Linked DNA regions of Homo sapiens: regions 2, 3, 4, 5, 6 and 7 are each linked to region 1. The links are contacts of gene promoters, found by promoter capture Hi-C in blood cells and fetal thymus (Javierre and others, 2016). All regions are on one chromosome and are shown on one strand. Each heading gives the region's core, a stretch centred on a gene start or on the middle of the fragment in contact. The rest is flanking DNA. Distances are from core to core; before and after follow the strand shown.

The links. The method cuts DNA at HindIII sites, captures the fragments that hold promoters and counts their contacts. A CHiCAGO score of 5 or more calls a contact.
Region 2: a fragment that was not itself captured here is called in contact with the fragment with the promoter of SLAMF1 in region 1 in 2 of 17 cell types (total CD4 T cells and naive CD8 T cells); the score reaches 5.6 in total CD4 T cells.
Region 3: a fragment that was not itself captured here is called in contact with the fragment with the promoter of SLAMF1 in region 1 in 12 of 17 cell types (fetal thymus, activated CD4 T cells, total B cells and 9 more); the score reaches 11.5 in fetal thymus.
Region 4: a fragment that was not itself captured here is called in contact with the fragment with the promoter of SLAMF1 in region 1 in 4 of 17 cell types (fetal thymus, non-activated CD4 T cells, total CD8 T cells and 1 more); the score reaches 9.2 in fetal thymus.
Region 5: a contact is called between a fragment that was not itself captured here and the fragment with the promoter of SLAMF1 in region 1, in 15 of 17 cell types (non-activated CD4 T cells, activated CD4 T cells, total CD4 T cells and 12 more). The highest score is 20.6, in non-activated CD4 T cells.
Region 6: a fragment that was not itself captured here is called in contact with the fragment with the promoter of SLAMF1 in region 1 in 7 of 17 cell types (non-activated CD4 T cells, activated CD4 T cells, naive CD8 T cells and 4 more); the score reaches 11.5 in non-activated CD4 T cells.
Region 7: a contact is called between a fragment that was not itself captured here and the fragment with the promoter of SLAMF1 in region 1, in 2 of 17 cell types (non-activated CD4 T cells and total CD8 T cells). The highest score is 6.6, in non-activated CD4 T cells.

What each region holds. Positions count from the first base shown.
Region 1 is chr1:160,645,760-160,648,816 of GRCh38, forward strand. SLAMF1 (signaling lymphocytic activation molecule family member 1) reads right to left here and starts at 1,285. Exons shown (of 7, transcript NM_003037.5): 1 at 1,111-1,285. The coding sequence starts at 1,186. LOC107985220 (a long non-coding RNA gene) reads left to right here and starts at 1,250. Exons shown (of 2, transcript XR_001738266.2): 1 at 1,250-1,576; 2 at 1,714-3,057. RefSeq lists enhancers at 1,117-1,326, 1,367-1,416. The HindIII fragment of the contact is 11,196 bases long and covers 1,257-3,057 here.
Region 2 is chr1:160,866,558-160,869,878 of GRCh38, forward strand. No RefSeq gene overlaps it. Among named protein-coding and RNA genes, the nearest start is that of CD244, 5.3 kb to the left of the region's middle. The HindIII fragment of the contact is 3,347 bases long and covers 1-3,269 here.
Region 3 is chr1:160,396,023-160,399,186 of GRCh38, forward strand. The region is part of intron 3 of LOC105371466 (a long non-coding RNA gene); the gene reads right to left. Among named protein-coding and RNA genes, the nearest start is that of VANGL2, 3.0 kb to the right of the region's middle. The HindIII fragment of the contact is 683 bases long and covers 919-1,601 here.
Region 4 is chr1:160,840,822-160,843,968 of GRCh38, forward strand. It overlaps CD244 (CD244 molecule), which reads right to left. Exons shown (of 9, transcript NM_016382.4): 2 at 763-1,080; 3 at 389-664. Among named protein-coding and RNA genes, the nearest start is that of CD244, 20 kb to the right of the region's middle. The HindIII fragment of the contact is 2,302 bases long and covers 159-2,460 here.
Region 5 is chr1:160,433,793-160,436,690 of GRCh38, forward strand. All of the region lies in intron 2 of LOC105371467 (a long non-coding RNA gene), which reads right to left. Among named protein-coding and RNA genes, the nearest start is that of VANGL2, 35 kb to the left of the region's middle. The HindIII fragment of the contact is 3,442 bases long and covers 1-2,898 here.
Region 6 is chr1:160,501,058-160,504,124 of GRCh38, forward strand. The region is part of intron 1 of SLAMF6 (SLAM family member 6); the gene reads right to left. Among named protein-coding and RNA genes, the nearest start is that of SLAMF6, 21 kb to the right of the region's middle. The HindIII fragment of the contact is 1,017 bases long and covers 1,257-2,273 here.
Region 7 is chr1:160,480,468-160,483,338 of GRCh38, forward strand. No RefSeq gene overlaps it. Among named protein-coding and RNA genes, the nearest start is that of SLAMF6, 41 kb to the right of the region's middle. The HindIII fragment of the contact is 308 bases long and covers 1,448-1,755 here.

The sequences.
Region 1 (3,057 bases), core at 35-2,534:
CAAAAGAAAGTGGGCTGAGCAAGCCCTGTTCGTCTGGCTGTCTGGTAAAAGACACATCCATTGTGCAGCACCCCCACATCCCTGGCATATCACGGTGCTTTTCCTGGAAAAGTCCATATTGGATTTGCGGTCTTGAAAACCCCAAGCTTAAAACACCCTGGGCCTCAGGATTTCCCCCCGTGTCCGTAATGCCACCTCTTCTACTCCAGGCTACCTCCCACAGTCTAAACAAATAAGCAGAAGGAGATTCTCACCCCACTCACACAGGCAGTCCAAAGTCCACTTCTTGCTTGGCTTTTTCTTTCTCAAATACCTTTTCTCATAGCCCTGATACTTCTAAACAGAAAGCAATAGCCTGCCTTGGGAAGAAGATAGACAGAAAGACAGGAACAGAGTCCAGATCCAAAGGTAGCTCTTGTCTGGCCTTCCTGCTGGAGCTACTCTCTGAGGGTTCCCAATTTGCATTTCCCACATACTGTAACCAGCCCTAGCCTTCAGAAATCCCAACTTCTTCCCTCTTGCTTTCTTGGACCTTCTCTTCCAAGAAAATACACACCAGTATGACCGCACTGTGGCCACTGCTGGTTCTCAGCCAAAAGCCTGGAGTTTTCACTTCTACTCTCTCTTCCCACTCTAGCCAATGCTTTCTGTTGACCCATGCTCCTGGTTTGTCAGCCTGCATGTGCACAGATTCCCTCCCAGGGCAGGGATGTAGGGCAAATCTTCTCCCAGAGCTCAGTCCATCCAGCTCAGTCTCTCTAGGCTGGGTCTTTGCCAGAAGATGCCCATGTAAAACCAACCACTCAAGCAAGACTTCTACCAGGGCCTGTCACCCTAAGACTGGTCAGAAAAGTGACTGGAGCCTTTGGCTTAGAGCCCCTCATTTCCTTGGAAACTGGGGTTGGTGGGGCTGAGTCTTGGAAACCCAAGGGCCCAGGAACTTATAATGTTCCTTCCTCTTTGAAAGAGGCAGTTGAAACTGACAGCCAGTCCCTAAGGAAGAGTGACCAAACACAATACCCAGCCCTGCACCTTCTCTCCATCCACGAAGATACGCTGATTCCTGGCAGCTAACATGGGACTCAAACCATCAGGCAGATGAACACTCACCTGTTCCGTAGCTTGCCCCAAAAGCCAGGGAGAGAAACAGCACGAAGGTCAAGGAGAGGAGCCCCTTGGGATCCATCAGCCAATGAGGAGAAGGAAGGGATCCTGGCCGGAGCCTGGCAGCTGCTCACAGATGCCAGGCAGAAGCAAGCTTCGTGTCATGCAGCAGAGGCTGTCTGATTTATGTATCAGGAACCAGCAGGTTCCTGAACCCGCTTCCTGTATCACTGGGACTTTTTCTGCTTGTGTCTTGAGGATTGCTCATCTCCCATGAGGCTTTAAATCACTTTTTTGTTCTCAAGAAGCAGGCTTCTCAAGAAGCCAGGCACTTAGCCTATGGGAGCCAGGAAAGGGGGTGTGTAGTCACCTCGGCCAAAACCCGGCTTTGGGCAGAAACATGCGCCCCAGCTTCTTTCCTTAGCTGTCTCCAGGAACCGGATGTTGCAGATTCTCTGAGCAGTTCTCTCCGGTAAGTCTTCTTGGATTGCAAAGAAAAGATGTTTCATTGGATCACTCCTCAAATTTGGCAGTTCACAGCTGAACTTAGATAACTGCATTTTGATGAGCTAATAGACCTCTTACTTCTGTTTTATTTCATAATTTCAGATGACACCTCAACATGCAGTCTGGTGCAGGTGCCACTGTCACACAGAGATGGGAAGGGCATGTGCGGGTCACTTGGAAGAAACCCTGTGACCCCGATGAGTGCAATGTGGTATAATTTAGTAGCCCATGCTCCTAGTTTGTCTTCTTGCATGTGTGTGGATTCCCTCCCAGGCAGGGATGTAGGACAAATCTATCCCAGAGCTCCATCCTTCCAGCTCAGTCTCCTTGTTGTGTGTGTGTTTTCTCCTCTAATTTTTAACGTCTGTGGGTACATAGTAGATATACATATATGTGTGTGTGTGTGTGTGTGTGTGTGTGTGTGTGTGTGTGTGTGTATGTATATATATATGTATGGGGTATGCATATATTTGTATGGGGTATATGAGATATGTTGATAGAGGCATGCAATATGTAATAATCACACAGGGTAAATGGGATATCCATCACCTCAAATATTTATCCTTTGTGTTACAAACAGTGCAATTATATTTTTATTTTTAAATGTGCAATTAAATTATTATTGACTATAGTCACACTGTTGTATTATCAAATACTAGTTCTTATTCATTCTTTCTATTTTTTTGTACCCATTAACCATCCCCACTTCTTCCCCAACCCCCACTACCCTTCAGCCTCTGGTAACCATCCTTCTACTCTCTATGCCCACAAGTTCAATTGTTTTAATTTTTACCTCTCACAAGCAAGTGAGAACGTGCAAAGTTTGTCTGTCTGTGCCTGGCTTATTTCACGTAACATAATGATCTTCAATTCCATCCATGTCATTGTGAATGACAGGATCTAATTCTTTTTTAGCTGAATAGTACTTCATTGTGTATATGTACCACATTTTCTTTATCCACTCATCGGTGATAGACGCTTAGGTCGCTTCCAACCTTGGCTATTGTGAATAGTGCTGTAATAAACATGGGAGTACAGATATCTCTTCAATATACTGATTTCTTTTCTTTTAGGTGTATACCTACCAGTGAGATTGTGGATCATATGGTAGCTCTATTTTTAGTTTTTTGAGGAACCTTCAAACCATTCTCCACAGTGGTTGTACTAACTTATATTCCCAACAACAGTGTACAAGGGTACTTTTTCTCCACATCCTTGTCAGCATTTGTTATTACCTGTCTTTTGGATAAAAGCCATTTTAATTTAATTGGGGCTGTGTTGTATTCTGGGAGTTGCCTTTATTTTGGAGTTTGTGTCTAACTTTTCATTGAGGAGAAGGAACTAGTATTGGCAGAAGGAGGATCCCGCCCTTTTTCATGAGTTAAACTATAAGAATGGGATACTGGAAGTGTAACCAATGCTCACAGGGAGACTTGAAAGAGTAGG
Region 2 (3,321 bases), core at 346-2,845, 220 kb after region 1:
CTGGAAAGAAGTTGTTAAAGTTGTCAAAGATGAACCATTCACAAAGAGCCCAACTGATCTTATAGGTATAGTCAACCAATCTTGCAAGAATTCAATAAATAACTTCTGTAACACCAGACACTAAATGAGAACTCATTGCCTTTATTTCTAACCATCTGAATATTGTCTGTGTTCCTGTTTGAATGAAACCATAACGACACTTTTAATAAGCACAATCTCTTTTTCTGTCTCTTTTTCTCAGAAGGGCTAGAAAATCGCTTTCCCTTCTATGTACATTTATCTTCTGTGGGCTTTCACTTGTTGGAAGAGAAGTAGCCAGTTATTGTTTATTTATTGGCTGTGATAACTTTCAGGTTCAGGTTAAAGGTAAGAGATGCAACAGTCTCATAAAGAAGATGGAAGACAGAGCCTCTCAAAACAATTTATGGGACATCAGATAACGCAGAGAACCCACATCCACAGGAGCAAAGGCTAAAGAGTGCAATCCATGTCTTAACTCATCTCAGAATTCAACATAACAAGAAATTTGCCATTCCCAGATTCAGTGTGAGAAACAGCTCTGACGATGCAGAGAACCGCAGGCTATCTCTCTGACACTAGCAATGTGGTGTGGGAAATGGAATCAATCTCTGCTTCCCTGTGTTGGAACAAAATGTTTCTACGTGAAAAAGGTACAAAAAAGTTTTCCCAAATTGCAAGGGAAATGCACCATAGAATAGCCTCCTATTTAGCCTCCTATTTAAAGATAATTAAATATAAATTTGTCTTATACATTTGTATCTTTTATTACATTGTATAAATCAGAATCTGATTTAGTATGAAATTATATTCTGAGATTTTTATGTTTGACATATTAGTAGACCAAGTGTTTTGCAATTAAAAAAAAAAAAACATAATGACTTCTAAGTGCCCTACCATCTAGTTTGTGAATTTTATCTAGTTTGTGAATTACAAATACAGAAAATCAAAATTGGGGTTATAATGATAAAGTCATTTGTGCAAGCCAATGTTCTCTTTTAATTTTTCTGTGCTACGTTGACACCTAGAAAGAAATGAATGTGATCAAAGTTTAGTGGTGTAATCAGATAAACTTATGATATGGTTTGGCTGTGTCCCCACCAAAATCTCAACTTGAATTGTATCTCCCAGAATTCCCACGTGCTGTGGGAGGGACCCAGGGGGAGGTAACTGAATCATAGGGGAGGGTCTTTCCTGTGCTAGTCTCGTGATAGTGAATAAGACTCACGAGATCTGACAGGTTTATCAGGGTTTCCACTTTGCTCCTTCCTCATTTTCTCTTGCTGCCACCATGTAAGAAGTACCTTTCACCTCCCACCATGATTGTGAGGCCTCCCCGGCCATGTGGAACTGTAAGTCCAATTAAACTTCTTTTTCTTCCCAGTCTTGGGTCTGTCTTTATCAGCAGAGTGAAAACAGACCAATACAACTTACAACCAAATTGTTATTTTAGTGGTTTGAATATCCATAATTGACCATGAAATTGTTTTGACATGACAAAACTTTACTGTGGAGTATTTTATTCTACATCACATTGCTATTTTATTCTATTTCACATTGCTGTTTATCCCTCATGTAGAATCCTCATCAGTGCTGAGAGTTTCCCTGATTCTATGTGTCACTGAACCTACCACACAGGTTGCATGGGCCCACACATTCACATATGAGATTATAGAAGATGAAGAACCTAAAACTGGCTTCCTGTTCTCTAAGAGTTCCTCTTCTTCTTCCCCTATCCGTGTGCTAACTGACCTCCCTACATGATTTTCATGTGAAGCTCTCTGGGTTTTTCTGGCATACCCTCTCCTGCTAAGAAGTTGCCTCTGGCCAGGTGCGATGACTCACACCTGTAATCTTAACATTTTGGGCGGCTGAGTTCAAGAATTTAATGGGCAAAAATAAAGAAGTCTGGTAATACCAAGTATTTGAGGGCATATGGATCAATTGGATCAATTATATACAGCTGATGGGAATGTAAATTGGTACAATTCTGTGGAAATAAATTGGTGTTATCTTGTAAAGTAAAATATTTATAAACTCTAATGATCCAGCAATATGACATCTAGTTATATACCTACATATAAGAGACAGTTTAGCACATATATACCTGGAGACACATATGACAATGTGCATAACAGCATTGTTTTTTATTGGAAAAAAAACTGGAGACAAAACAAATGGCAATGGGAGAGTGGAAAAACAAGATGTGATCTATTCATACAATGTAAATTCAATAGCATCAAAAATGAATGTGGGACAGCACAGGAGAACAGTAGTTACATAATGTCATAGGAAAAAATAAGCACCAGAAGACAATATACAATATGATAGTATTTTTATATAGTTTAAAAACAAAAAATTAAACATATTATTTGGGCATCTGCATGATGTGTGTGCATGATTGTTAAAAAGTAGCTTAAGCAATAGGATCTTAACCACAAATTGAGATAATGGCAACAACTAAGGAAGAAGGGAGGGATGGAGTGACATAGAGGAACACAGAGGTAGGTGTAGATTAATAATAATATTCTAGTTGTTGGGTTGTGTCATGATAAGCGTCCATTGCATTGTGAAACAAAGGAAGGTGAGAGAGAGGTGGACGGGGGTAGAAGGAGAGTGAGAGAGGGAGCTGACCTAGCTGCCATGCGTCTCTGGCTGCTTGTTACAACCACAAAGAAAGACCACTAATACCACCTCATCATGAAACCTTTCAGGTAATCATTAGTGTTGTTCACTCTGATACAATTCTCCTCTTTTGGGGCAGGGTGGGGACATGGAAGGCTGCACTTCTCTTTGGAGTTAAACAGGACCATGTGTCTTGCTCTGGCCAAGCAATGTAAGCAGAAAGTGTCACTGTCAGGCTGAAGCCTTTAGGAGAAGCAAGACACCAGTCAACACACTCCTTTCTCCAGCTTCAGTAAATACCTAAAACACGTAGCATTGGCTTGGTAATAGGCCTACTGATGATGAAGAAATTAATATTGAAGGTTGGAAAGATGGCACTCCATGTTATGTAAGAAGTGAAAATGTTAAGAGTGTTGCCTGTGGCCACTCAAGAAGTGTGTTATATACCTAGTGCCCTTGAGCTCTAAGGGAAGACATCAGGGAAACAGAATGCAACGCTGTGTGCCAGCTGCCTTTGGTAACATATTATGAAAGAGAGGCCCAAAGGAAAATCAGATGGTCTGTTTTGCAAGCAGCAATGAAAGAACTAACTGACTCCGTGTCTTCAACAGGTAAATGGTAAAGAAAGCTTTCATTAATAAATGATCTTCAATAAAGACACACACAAATACATACACG
Region 3 (3,164 bases), core at 10-2,509, 250 kb before region 1:
AGCACTCATAAGTGAGTACTGACTGAAGCCACAGGAGTGAATGACATTGCTTTGGAAAAGCATGTGGAGTGGGGAGTAAGGGGGCCAAAGGCTGAATTCTGGGAAATAATAGTATTTGAAGTCAGGAGTAGAAAACACATTGGAAGGATGGCTGGGGTGCAAGGAGCTGAGGAGTGAAGGGAGGAAGAGAGATAGTAAAGAATCTATCCATTTTTTTTTTTTTTTTTTTTTTTTGAGATGGAGTTTCACTCTTGTTGCCCAGGCTGGCGTGCAATGGCACGAACTCGGCTCACCGCAACCTCCTCCTCCTGGGTTCAAGCGATTCTCCTGCCTCAGCCTCCCGAGTAGCTGGGATTACAAGCACCTGCCACCATGACCGGCTAATTTTGTATTTTCAGTAGAGACGGGGTTTCTCCATGTTGGTCAGGCTGGTCTCTAATTCTCGACCTCAGGTGATCCACCCGCCTCAGCCTCCCAAAGTGCTGGGATTACAGGTGTGAGCCACCAGGCCTGGCCTAAGAATCTACTCTTTTAAGAAGGTTGGATGAGAAAGAAATAAAAGCGAAGGCTAAAGCAAGAGGAGGCTGCTGAGTGGAGGAAGGTATTTCATTTTATTATGTCTGCTGGGCAAAGATCAGTGAAGAGGCCGAAGTTGGTTACAGGAGAGATTGTGAATAATGGATGGAGGTGGGAAAGGACAGGATATAACGCACACCTGCAGGGCCTAGTCCCAGCCAAGGGAGCTGGAGAGTGTCTATTCTTCCCAAGAAGGAGGAAGGAAATCAGAAAGTTTCATTCAGTGGTTCTCACATTAAAATCACTGAGGTATCTTAAAAAAAATGCCAATAGCTGGGTCACACCTCAGAAGTTTCTGGTTTAATTAGTCTGGGATGGTCCTGGGCATTGATGTGTTTTCAAAGCTTCCCAGGTGATTAAAATCTGCAGTCAAAGTTCACAACCACTGGTTTAATTGCAGGTAACATTTTAGATTAATGATAATGGGATTGGATTTGAGGAAACTCACACTTAATAAAGGTTGGATGAATAGGGAGTGGTCAAGGTTTCATAGATGAGGAAGGGAGAAAGAGAAGGAAGCTAGAAGGGAAGGCAGCTAATGCTAACTTATTGAATTTTATGTGCCAGAGATATAGAAATGAATGAGGCATGGTCCTTCTTCTTAGAGATCAGGATCTCACATGACAGACACTTCACCACAAGCCTATGACATAATACAGTTCTTGACCAGTTAAGTTTTTTTGTGTGTGAGCTACTTTTATTCTTTTTTTTTTTTTTTTTTAACTAAAAGTGAAGGGGGAAACCCCTCACACCCAGAACCCAGGTATTTCCCAATATAGACTGGGTCTGGAAATCCTTTTGTGAGCATTGAGAGTAGCCTTTCTGGGAAGGTGGGTGCTGGGGAAAGATCTGTAACTATTCCGGGAGATCAACTTGTACCCAGGCTCATCAGCAGGGCTGGAAGTAGATGGTGATTGTGGCCCTGCATGTGGGTACATTACTGCAGTCACCTGTACCTGGGAGGTGGCTAAAATTGCTAATTGCTTACATGGAAACACTTTGATGGCCATTCTGCTATAGTGTGAAGCTTCTATGAGTAAGGTACCAAGGATTCCCTTTCTCTGAGCAGCATTGTAAAAAGGCCCTACTTTTCATCAGAGCAGAAAACCTAACTTTTGCTACTGTGGTCTGGGCCTGACCTCCAGGGACAGCTTCATCCACACAGGAAGTAGGTAGGTGCTTCTCTATAGTCTGGACCTTCCCTCAGAGAGAGTCTACTGTCACTTCTTGAGTTCCTTGAATCTTCCCCAGGAGGGTCCAACTCCCAGGGCTCCTGGGAAGCCTCTGATCTGACCCCACCAGCCCCACCTCCACCTAGTGAGCTGGTGAGGTGTTGAAAGGGCTTTAATGGAGGGCCCTGGCTTTTAGCTAGGGGCCTCCTTCCCCGAGGAAGAGTACTGAAAGAAGTGTCCTAGAGAAGTGTTCTCTCCTAAGAGAAGTATCCTAGGCACAGAACAGAGAGGGGAAACTCGACTGGGAATTGACTGTGGCACTATGAGTATATGGAGGGTGTTCCTTCTGTTACCTCATTAGACCCTTTTTATATAAGCAGAAATTGAGGCTTGAAGAAATTAAGAAATTCGACTATGTCCTCAAGGACAGGAGCTGTACAAAATCCAATCTGTTCCATTCTATTGTCCCTCAGGCTCTTGGCCTCCCTCTGTTATTGTAGGTTGGCCCCTTTAGGAAAATCTCAGTTGAATGTCATTTCAGTGCTCTCCTTCCTTCTAAAGAATTAAGCTAGGTCCCTTAGACCATAGGGCACATGGGCCTTCTAGCTGGGTCTCTGTTTGCTTACTCAGTGACTTGGGGACGTGTGAAATCCAGATGGGATTCTATCCTGAGGTGAAGGTAGAAGGTAATACAGAGAATTGCTGAATGGGACAGACCACACCAATAAAATTTTTTGTTGGACTCTGTAATCCAGTGTTTTCATTGCAGAGATGTAATTGAAAGCCCCCAACCTCACCGTCAGAGAAAGGAGGGACTAAGCTTATTCTAGCCTGATGCCTGATACCTGTTAATTGGGAAGCCTTGTCTGTTAACATCCTGACTTAGGTTTCAAGCTTTCAGTGGGGCCAGACTATGGAATTATCTGTAATTCTGGCATCAGAAGCCCTTTTTCCAGTTCTTTGGGCCATTTTGGGGTCTGTGAAACAGGCTAGCAGCATGTGAAGATAATTCACACTAAATCTGCCTGAGAGTCAAGACAGTGCCACGGCAGCCCCGACTCTGTGTCAAATTACACACTAGCTGCCTAGCACTGGGGTGTGCTTTGGGGCAGGGCTGGGGACACCCATGTCCTCCCTACTTCCCTTAACCCTTCCCCAGCTCTCCTGCCACTCCCTCATACACCTGGTCGTGGTCACTGCCAGGAGCCCCAGTGCGGCCCAGTGCCTGCACATGATAGGCACAAGGTGAATGAGTGCCTGGACGCATGCAGGGACTTGGGTACCTGAAATGATGATTCTGCATATTTCATGTAGTCTTGATGCTGAGTCACCTGCTTACCCATACTACTGGAGGAGGGGATGAGGAAAGACAGAGTTTGGGCAAAGGAGAAAGGAAGTGTGTTTTACTGTTCTGCA
Region 4 (3,147 bases), core at 60-2,559, 200 kb after region 1:
AGTGTAGTTACCTCTTGAACTATGTGGCTTGGAGAAAGTTATCACTCAAGAGGAGAGGACAGTTCTCCATCAGCCTCTCCCAGGAAGAAAATAATGTTCAGGAGCCATTTCAGGACTGTCACTCACCAAACAACTATGCCCTCCCTCTGCAGAAGAAAAGCTTGCATCTCCCAGAAGGAAATAGGGATAACATTTTTTTCCAGAGTAGGATAGGCCTAGCTTTACAGGAACTGTGTGCCTGGAGGCCAGGGCTACCCTGGGAAGGGCTACAAGGCACTGGGAGAGGAGGCCAAGGGATTTTATCTCATACCACATCTGTCTTGCACATGAGCCTGGTTGCGGGGTCCAAACCTTCAGCGCTTGTTATAGCCCAGTGTGTTCCACTTACCCTGATGGGCATTCTGACAGTCCTGAGTGAGATTCAGGGTGTGGCTTTCCCAGCTAACAGGATTGCTGACATTGCAGGTATATGTGTGAGTGCCATTAATGTCAACCTCCTCGTCCAGGTAGGTGAGGTTCCCTGCTGTCTGGATCAGCTTGCTCCCTCTGTACCAAGCATAGGACACATTGCCATCCCTGGAGACCAAGCAAGACAGAGCCACTTGGCATCTCCCTCTGTCCAGGATCTTCCCCTGCCCCTGTAGGCGGGGTTTCTCAACTTTATCTGGAAGCAGAGATTCTGATCAGAAAGGCATTGGAAATACAGAACTTAGAGGCCTATAGGAATCAGAGAGGGCAGTATGAACAGTCCTGGAGACTTACCAAATACAAAAACCTGGAACGTGGCTGTCTGAACTTTTCCAGATATACTGGTGACCTCCAGGCAGTAGAGGCCACTGTCCTGCTGCTGAGCTGCCTTGATGAGAAGACTCAAGTTCTTGACTATAAAACTGAATCTATCATTGGAAGTATTGGAAGGCAAAGAGCCATTCTCCCACTTCAATATGTGATGAAATCCATTTTGTGAGGGCAGCAACTTCTTCCATGCAATGCTGTCAACCTTCGTCTGTATGCTGTTTGGTTGTAACTGAAGAGGCACTCCCGAGATGCTAACCACATGGTCAGCTGATCCCTGGCATCCTAGGAAAGAGAACCCAAGCTGAAAGTAGCGGGAAGAGTGTCAGGCCTGAGCAATGTGGGCAGCTGGATGTGACTTCCCTTAAGCCAATTGGGTGGGGATGAGTATGAGGAGCCCAGAACCTAGGAGCACCTTAAAGCATATCCCCTCCATCTGCCTCCCCTTGTCCCCAAGCTCTGTGTCCCTAGTCTGAGGGATCCCATAGACCAATAGCTAAAATCTTGAGTACTTACTATGTGACAGGCAGGTTTCACACTTTATACATTTTAACTATTTAAGTTAAAAGGTATGATGAGTTAAAAGAATGATGAGCCTGAAACCTAGTCAGTTTGGTGTTATGTTTTTGTTTTCTTTTGTTTTGTTTTCTAGAGACAGGGTCTCACTCTGTCACCCAGGCTGGAGTGCAGTGGCGCAATCACAGCTCACTGCAGCCTTGAACTCCTGGGCTTGAGGTGATCCTCCCATCTCAACCTCCCTAGTAGCTGGGAGCACAGGTGCTAGGGAGCTTATTTGTTTACTCTTTGTAAAGACAGCAGTTTGGCTTGAGAGGATAAATTCTTAACCATGATGCTATAAATACCACATCTAAGGTGACTCCCTCCAAGCAGTGCTGAGGCAACTACTAATGGCAAGTAGTGACTGTTGGAAATTCTGAATGGTCAGGCCCAGGAAGACTAACCGTCCAAGCTGAACTCATGGCCCCTCAACCATCCTCTCACAGAGCTGAATACATAATCCTCTCTCGTGGCACTTGGTTCATTGGATTTTGGTCATTACTTATTGATGTTTGCCAGTTTTTCAGTGATCAGAAAGTCTCCACAAAAATTTCTCCCTAGAAAACAATTTTAAAAATAAAACTACACTTCCCAGGCAGATCCCAGCACTTGCCTCTCAAAGAATCAAGATGAAACCTAATGAATATGGGGGTGTGACAACCTAGAGCAATTCTGTGCAGTCAGTGTACAAAACTGGAAGTTCCTACAGCCATTTTTAGTAATAAAGCTATGTGGCATGGCCCAGCAGGTGCAGGAAATTAAAAAGTCTCTCTGGGTGAGTTGGGGAGGCTCAGGGAGGATTTGGAAGAGAAAATAAGAGATGGGGAGAGTTTTACAAGTGGCTCCGTTAAAATGGAGGCTATTAAGAAGAGAGCAATTGAGACAGAGGGGTTTTTATATGTCCAGTGCATTATGAATGCAGTCTCTCCAAGCCACAGCTTCACCCTGGCATTTTCTCAAGAGACTAAGTAAATAATTAAAGGACTTGTAATACTATTTGTTTGATGAAATATGTTTCTTTGATCTTGATGCTCCTAAGACTAAAACACATAGGTTCCCATTTATATTTATATGACTTGTACTGGCTCTGCCCATTAGCAAACCAAAAGCTTCTCAAAAGCAGAGACTGTGCTGTGCATCTCTGTGTCTCTGTCTCCTACGATCCTAGCACTATTTATAAGAACAAGTCAACCTACCAAATATTGCACAAAGACCCTGAGAACAAAGGTGAATGGAAAAAATCATTACTAAACCTACAAGGAGGACATATACTGTCTTCATCAATTATTCAGTCCTTACTGAGTCCCACTGCAATCCAGCCCCTGAAGAGGCAGGGCCTCTTCATGTATAAGGCATGATTCCTGACTCCAGAGAGTTTGTGATCTGGAAACAGAACACTTTCATTCTACAGCATCCCCTTAATTGTTGAGATAAAAAATCATCGAAGGAATTCTAATTATGTAATGAAAATCCAGGTTAAGACATGCTAACCAATCCTCCCACTAAAAATAGCTAGAAGAAAAATGAACAACATGTAAAAGCACATTGTTAAAGTTATCAGAGAGTTTATAAAGCAGTGAAAAATTATGGGGCCAATATCTGGAAGAAGGAAATTCAGAGAGGTGAGATCAGCATTTCTGACTGTTGTTCCCTGGAGGCATCTTCTGATTCCATAAATGGCAGCTAAAAGGCTGAGAAGCTGAGCAGAGCTCACAATAAAACTCAAGGAACTAAGAGAACATGAAGTTCACGTCCCTCCTATTAGAAAGCGGGTATACATAAAATCCATCAGTG
Region 5 (2,898 bases), core at 252-2,751, 210 kb before region 1:
TGTGGAGTTTATACAAAAGCAGTTCAGTATGCAACTTAACTGATCCATGAGACGTTAATAATGACACAAAAAAAGGGCCAAAATGAGATCTTATCACTAAAGGCCATAGAAATTGAAGGAGCAGTTTCCAATATAAATTATCTTTGGCTAGAAATTTTTTTGCCAACATGACTGTATTAGTCTATTCTCATGCTGCTATGAAGAAATACCCGAAACTGGTTTAATTGACTCAGTTTCTCATGGCTGGGGAGGCCTCAGGAAACTTGCAATTCTGGTGGAAGGGGAAGCAAACACATCCTTCTTCACTTTGTGGCAGGAGAGGGAATGAGAGCCAAAATGCTGCCAGTCTCTTTGCGTTGCAAGAGTGACATTTACTTCAGTTCTTAACAAGTTCCTCATCTCCATTTGAGACCACCTCAGCCTGGACTTCATTGTCCATATCACTATCAGCATTTTGGTCAAAGCCATTCAAAAAGTCTCTAGGAACTTCCAACCTTTCCCACATTTTCCTGTCTTCTGAGCCCTCCAAGTCTCTAGGAAGTTCCAAAGTTTCCTGTCTTCTTCTGAGCCCTCCAAACTGTTTTAACGTGTGCCTGTTACCCAGTTCCAAAGTCACTTCCACATAATTGGATATCCTTATAGCAGTACCCCACTCTCTGTTGTACCAATTTACTGTATTAGTCTGTTTTCATGCTGCTATGAAGATATACTCAAGACTGGATAATTTATAAAGAAAAGAGGTTTAATTGACTCACAGTTCCTCATGACTAGGGAAACCTCAGGAAACTTACAATCATGACAGAAGGCAAAACAGGCATGTCTTACATGGCGGCAGGTGAGAGAAGTGAGTGCCAACTGAAGGGGGCAGCCCCTTATCAAACCATCAGATCTTGTGAGAACTCACTATCATGAGAACAGCATGAGGGTAACCACCCCCACGATTCAATTATCTCCGTCTGGTCTCTCCCATGACACATGAGGATTACGGGAACAAAAATTTAAGATGAGATTTGGGTGGGGACTCAGCCAAACCATATCAATGACCAATAGAACAGAGGAAATTCATGAGTTTTACCATATTTAGATAGTTTCAGATAAGGTGACTTAATGTACTTCAATATTTGCATTAATTGCTATGGGTATAGAATGAAAGTGTGATCCTTGAATATCTGAGACATGTCTCAGTTAATTTAGAAACTTTATTTTTCCAAGGTTGAGGACACATGCCCATGACACAGCCTCAGGTCATGATGACCTGTGCCCAAGGTGGTCAGAATACAGTTTGATTTTATACATTTTAGGGAGAGATGAGACATTAGTCAATGTATGTAAGATGAACATTGGTTTGGTCTGGAAAAGGCAGGACAACTTGAAGCAACGGTGGGGCAACTCGAAGTGAGGAGGGGGGCTTCCAGGTCATAGGTAGATAAGAGACAAATGGTTGCATTCTGTTGAATTTTTGATTAGCCTCTCCGAAGGAGGCACTCAGATATGCATTTATCTCAGTGAGAAGAGGGGTGACTTTGAATAGAATGGGAGGCAGGTTTGCCTTAAGCAGTTCCTCGCTTGACTTTTCCATTTAGGTTAGTGATTTTGGGGCCCCAAGATTTATTTTCCTTTCACAAAAGTAACACCATATTTCAATAATTGTAGGTAGCATCATATATCAATAATTTAGAAATATGTTCTCAAGTTTCTTTGCCCAAGTGGTGGTCACTGTACAAACTTCAAGATCTTAACGACCTTGTAGTTAAATGTTGCTGGAAACTGTCTTATCTGTGTTTACTGTTTTTCACTCATTCTGTCATTTAACCAATATTTGTTGAGCACCTTCTATGTGCCAGGAGCTATGCTAGGTATTGGTGGCATGGCACTGAATAACATGGACATAGTCTTTGTTCTCAGATAGTAATCACTTAATTTCAAAGGTGATGAATGTAGTGATGAAGTATAGGGGACTATGGGATCTTACAGTAGGAAACTGACCAAGGTTGTCAGGAAAGGTTTCCTTGAAATAAAGGATGGGGCACAACATCTTTTTGACTGGGAAGAGCTTCCTCATTCTCTTCAATAACCAAACTCTATCCAAGAAATTGCTGTCTAAAAATTGAGTGTCAAAGTAATTGGACCTTGGAAGTTGTCAAAAGATTTCTTGAGAAGGCTAGCAAGGATGTATAGCAAGGGGAATGCTTGTACACTGTTGGTGGGAATGTCAATTAGTACAGCCACTATGGAGAACAGTATGGAGGTTCCTCAAATAACTAAAAACAGAACTACTATATGATCCAACAATCCCACTGCTGGGTGTACGCCCAAAGAAAGGAAATCAGTATTTCGAAGAGATGTCTGCACTCCCATGTTTATGGCAGTACTATTTACCATAACCAAGATATGGAAGCAACCTAAATGTCCATCAATGGAGGAATGCATAAAGGAAATGTGGTACATATATACAATGGAATTCTGTTATTTGCAACGATATGGATGGAACTGGAGGACATTATATTAAGTAAAATAAGCCAGGCACAAAAAGACAAACATCACATGTACTCATTCACATATGGGAGCTAAAAAAAATTGAAGTTATGGAGAGAGAGACTAGAATGATGTTTACCAGAAGCTGGGGAGAATAGTAGGTACAGGGGGATAAACAGGGAGTGGTTAATGGATATAACAGTACAGTTAAATAGAATGAATAAGTTGTAGTATTTGGTAGCACAATAAGGTGACTGTAGTTAACAACAATTTATTGTATATTTAAAAATAACTAAAATAGGGGAATTGGAATGTTCTTAACACAAATAAATGATAAATAAATGCTTGAGATGATGGATACCCCAATTACCCTGATTTGATCATTACATACTATATGTCTGTATCAAAACATCATATGTGCTC
Region 6 (3,067 bases), core at 515-3,014, 140 kb before region 1:
ATCTGCAAAGACAAGCACAGAAATTTATTTATTTGTTTGTTTGTTTATTCATTCTGGTGTTCAAATATTCTAATATTTGCTAACTTCCATGCTAATTCAATTAGTAAAACCTTAGGAACCATGGCATATTTATTAGGTCTGTTTTATGTACCAGTTTCTAGACTGGAAACTGGGAATATAAGATACTGTCAGTCCTCTGGGTCCATCATCTGATAGAGGAGCCTGACAGGTAAATGAGTAGTTAGTTCTGATGTGGTGGGTTGGGCATTGAGCTAGTGTAAGGCTTGCCTCTGCATTGCCCTCGTATCACTATTGCAGTTATACATGCAATTGCAAGCAGTTCTTTCTCTTTGTTATAATTACAAGATTATTTTCTTTTCTTTTCCATAATCTTGAGGTCAGGGATTCTGATTATTATTTCTATATTCCTAGAACTTAGCACACAATTTCTAGCTCAATAAATGTTGAATTGTTAGAGATATGTGCTCCATGGGAGCAAAAATTTAGAGAATCATGAACTGGGAAGAGTTGGGAGTTGTCAGGGAACAGTTCACAGGAGATGACACTGTAGCAAAGTCTTGAATAAAAGCTATGAGTTCTCCATTACTTAATTATTTGTAATTCTTCCAATAATGCCTTGCTTTTTTTTTTTTTTTGCACTGCTTTTCCCTCTGCTTAAAATGCCTTTCTTCATCTTTCCTACATGGTAAGCTCCTATTTATCCTTCAAGGATGAGCTAAAATATCTGTTTGCCTCTTATATTTATGGGGGTTTTGCATTGGTACATGGGGAAGGGGAGAAAGGAGTTTGTGGTGAAGCAAAGGGAGAAGGAGCACAGGATGGATGAGATGGTAGGAATAGTTCCCCACAGACCCAAAACCAAACCAAAGCAAAACTAGATTTGAGACAATATGCTTAGGGACAGTGAAGGTCAGATGCTACTGAAAATGTTTAAAAGACCCTGCATGAGACTTTGGACAGGAGCAGAGCTGCTTCAGGGCCAAGGTGTTGTGGTGTGGCCCAGAGGGCACATGGAGGTCCTTTTCTCTGCTCTGCCAGGAATCAACACTGATGCTTTGGGAGCATCCGGGACCAGCACCCTTGGCATGGACATTGATGTTCTTGGAATAAGCAGGGCATCTAAATGGCTCTGCTGGCATCCTGTGTGGGGGACTAGAACCAGAAAAGGAGATTAAGAATGGGAAAGATGCCTCATGTTGGCTACAACTCGTAGGCTGCTTTGGGGACTCATGGGAAGCTTTCCTTTGAGACTCTCATAAGTCACTGGGGAACTCCTTGCAACATGAAGGTGATGCTGAGGTCTTGCCCATCCACTGGTGAGGATGTCAAGACAGCAGACATTTGGGGTACATTTGTTTACAAGTTTCATCTACTGTATGATGTGTTTTGGGGAACTCAAATAATATCTTAGTCAGCATTGTATTTCCCCATAACCTGGTCCAGGGAACTCAGTGAATGTTAAGTAGATTGGAATTAGAATAGAGAAGTTTTTAAGGGTTACCTGATTAGTGGAGGGTTAGTTTGGAAGGTATTAAAAAACATGAAGTATTTTTGAAAATTGGCAAAGTATAAAGAGAGCAGTGTCTTAGGAAAGAGAGGAGAGAGGTAGAACTAAGCAGATTCTGAAAAAGAGAGAAAAGTCAAGGAACTTTGGGTTTCTAACCTGAGGGACTAGCTTAGGCCCATCTATAGCTAACAGGAATATAGCAAGCTGTGTTAGCTCCACAGGAGGCAAATGCAGTATGAAAGAGAGTAGGGGCTGATTTCTCAAGAGAATTTAAAGAGAAGGGAGGAGAAACATAGTCAGGATATTGAGAAGGTAGGACAAATGGAAGTTACTCTTTAGGTAACAGAGTCCTGAGCAAATTTGGAGCAAAGGGAAGCAGCTGGGAGAAAAAGAAAAAACTTAAGATATGGTGAAAGGGAGTATTCAAAACGGTGTCATTTCTGAGGAGGAAGCCAGGGTGGGCTTAGGAGCATAAGTGAAGAGGTTAGTCTTGGGTAGACGTGGTTCTCCTTTTCTTTTGAGACTGAAAAGAATAAGGTTAAAGATCTCAAAAGATTTAGAGGGTAAAGGGGAAGAAGTTGGAATATTTCGCTTATGTTTTTCTCAAAGTTGTTCTAAGAGAAGTAGATCTCATAGAATCTAGAGGAAGACGGATGAGACATGTAAAAGCTGCTATGAGGAATTTGTTAGGAAACTGACAAGTCATCAATAAATGAGTGTGGAAGCAGTGAGGAGGAATTGGCCAAGCTTGGTTGACACGCACCATTCATGGAGTCCATCCAGTTTTGCATTGGCTGGTGCGAAAGTGATTGCGGATTTTGCCATTACCTTCAATGGGAAAATCCGCAATCACTTTTGCACCACACTAATAACTTTCTCCAATGATTATAGCACTTGTAGCCCAGGAACAGGGAAAGAAGGTGCTGGGGATCACCTAATATTAGCAATAGGCATAGTATAGGTAGGTGTGGCATCAAAGGGGAGAGGGATTTCAGGGGAATGGTGACTACTTTGTTGAAATTGCTGGCCTAAAGTCTGAGGGTCAGTGACATTAGTCAAAATGGCACAATAAATAACTGCAAGGGTCCATCCCTCCACAAAAAACATGCACACTCATGCGAACACACACAGAGTGAGCAAACATTGTCAGAATCAACTTTGTCAGAACTGTAGAAACTAGTCAAAGGTTTATAGCAACCAAACAAATGATGGGTCAAAAAAAGAGGCAACTTAAAAATGCTAGGAGTTCTAGTCTGGCCAACATGGTGAAACCCTGTCTCTACTGAAAATACAAAAATATCAGCCAGGCAGAGTGGAACATGCCTGTAGTCCCAGCTGGGGAGGATTGTTTAAACCTGGGAGGCAGAGGTTGCAGTGAGCTGAGATCATGCCATTGCACTCCAGCCTGGGTGACAGAGTGAGACTCTATCTCAAAAAAAAAAAAAAAAAGCAAAAGAAAAAAAGGAGTTAAAAAAAGCCAAATACATAGAAACAAAGTATAAAGCAGTGGTTATCAGAGGTGGAGAGAGGGAACAGAGA
Region 7 (2,871 bases), core at 352-2,851, 160 kb before region 1:
CAGATGGGTTTTTGGTGTGGATGTCCTTTCTGTTTGTTAGTTTTCCTTCTAACAGTCAGGACCCTCAGCTGCAGGTCTGTTGGAGTTTGCTGGAGGTCCACTCCAGACCCTGTTTTCCTGGGTATCAGCAGTGGTGGCTGCAGAACAGCAGATATTGGTGAACCGCAATTGCTGCTGCTTGATTGTTCCTCTGAAAGTTTTGTGTTAGAGGAGTACCCAGCCGTGTGAGGTGTCAGTCTGCCCCTACTGGGGGAGTGCCTCCCAGTTAGGCTACTCAGGGGTCAGGGACCCACTTGAGGAGGCAGTCTGCCTGTTTTCAGATCACACGCTGCATGCTGGGAGAACCACTATTCTCTTCAAAGCTGTCAGACAGGGACATTTAAGTCTGCAGAGGTTACTGCTGCCTTTTGTTTGTCTGTGCCATGCCCCCAGAGGTGGAGCCTACAGAGGCAGGCAGGCCTTTTTGAGCTGTGGTGGGCTCCACCCAGTTCGAGCTTCCTGGCTGCTTTGTTTACTTACTCAAGCCTCGGCAATGGTGGGCACACCTCCCCCAGCCTTACTGCCACCTTGCAGTTTGATCTCAGACTGCTGTGATAGCAATGAGTGAGGCTCTGTGGGCGTAGGACCGTCCAAACCATGTGTGGGATATAATCTCCTGGTGTGCGGTTTGTTAAGCCCGTTGGAAAAGTGCAGTATTAGGGTGGGAGTGACCCGATTTTCCAGGTGCCGTCTGTCACCCCTTTCTTTGACTAGGAAAGGGAATTCCCTGACCCCTTGTACTTCCTGGGTGAGGCCATGCCTCGCCCTGCTTTGGCTCATGCACGGTGCGCTGCACCCACTGTCCTGCACCCACTGTCCAGCACTACCCAGTGAGATGAACCCGGTACCTCAGTTGGAAATGCAGAAATCACCTGTCTTCTGCATTGCTCACGCTGTGAGCTGTAGACTGGAGCTGTTCCTATTCGGCCATCTTGGCTGCCCCTCTATTTCCTCCTGTGTCTTAAATTGCCATGAATTCACCTTGTGTTTTAAGTTGCCATGAATTCACCTTGTGTTTTGGATTGTTGTTGGATCCTGAGAGGGATGTTCTACTTTCCTTGGGTCATTAGAAGTCAAAGGGAGAATGAAAAACAGAATTTAAGGTGATTACGAGACATCCAGGAAAATATCCAGTCAGCAGAACCTAGGGAAACAAATCTAATTATGGGACATAAATAATAAGAGAAACCAAGCTAAGGAGAGGTAAGGAGGAGACAGAAAGACAAAAGTAGGATGAGGTGACTTAATGGGCATTAAAAGGAGGGAAACCTCAAGGGTGATGGGGGGATTGTGTAATGTCAAATGCTGCAGAGAGCACCAGAATGCAGAGAAAAGATCCCTGCCTCTAGAGGTTGGTATCCTTCAAGAATGCAGCTTCAGAAGAGTGGGCTAGGGGTGAGGAAGCAAAAGCTTTGGATGTGGCCATTCTAGTCGTCTGGTAGTAAAAGGTCAGTGATGATGTCCCCTTCCTTTCTTCCCACAGAGAGTGCTTTTAGATGGCCTCTGGGAAGGGGAAATTCAGGGGGTCAGACTTGCTCCCTCCCCATTTGAGAAGTCACTTCTTAGTCCATTCTTTTCATCAACTTGAAACTCAGGGTGAAATGTCTATCCAGTGACCTTGGACAGGGTAGCCTTCTCTCTGTTCTGCATCTAGCTGTGGCCCTGCTTCCTCATATCAAAGTATACACTGAACCCTGAGGGAGGCTAAATGATGAAAGCTTCAAGTAAGTGTCCTAAAGCTACACGGGGTTCAGGTGTTGGCTTGAGGGTGGGATGGGGTGTGGACAAGTGAGATCAGACATTGTTATTTTGGGACTAGTTAATGTGCTCTTTTGACCAACATGATGTGGGGCAAAGCTTCATGGTGTAGGTAAGAGGTTGGAAACTTAACTATTTTCAGTACTAGGTAGGTATCTTAAGTGAGTGAAGCAGGCAGGGCAGGCCAGGAGTGAAATGTGAAGTGCAAGCCCCATTTAGAATAGAACAGAGGCTACTCAGCACCAGCTAATTGTTGCCTCATAGGGATGTGGTCCCAGTATCCATAAGGCACAGAAGTAGGAAGGAGAGTCTAGATTATTCTAGGAGCTGAATAAAGAACAGTGTGGCTGGAATGCTGTGAAAGAAGGAGTAGAGATGTGAGTAGGGGTCTTGTAGGCCTTGTCAACACTTTGTGACCTCCTAGTGGGAATGACTGGGGGCTGGCAGAGTGGGAAGAGTATTTCTATTCCCTTTTATTACCTTTCCAGGATAGCCAATCACAGCCATCTTACCTTATTCAAAGTAGTTTAATGGGGCTACCATTTCCTTAATTCTACAATAAAAATATTAAAGAACAAGCTTACCTCCTGGGCAAAGAAAGTTTGTTTTTTGGTAGGAATTTTATAAGCATTGCATGTTTTCTTCCCTGCTTGCAAAATGCATGATTCATCTTTTAGGAATGGGGCATCTGGGTCTTAATGTATTTAACTTTAGAACAATAGATTAGGTTTTTGTTGATTAAATCCATTTGTTTCCCACAAGAAAACAAAAATGATTAGTTATATGGTGAGTACTGGGTAGTTTTCAGTTTTGTAAAGGAGATCTGTTCAAGAGTGTCCCATAACAATGATACCATTTACTGATATGAAAAAGCATAGTAGAAGAAAAGGCTTGATAAGAGAAATCAAGAGGTTTGATTTTTTTTTTTTGACAGAGTCTCACTCTGTTGCCCAGGCTGGAGTGCAGTGGCATGATCTTGGCTCACTGCAACCTCCGCCTCCTGGTTTCAAGTGATTCTCCTGCCTCAGCCTCCTGAGTACCTGGGATTACAGGCACCCAACATCACACCCGGCT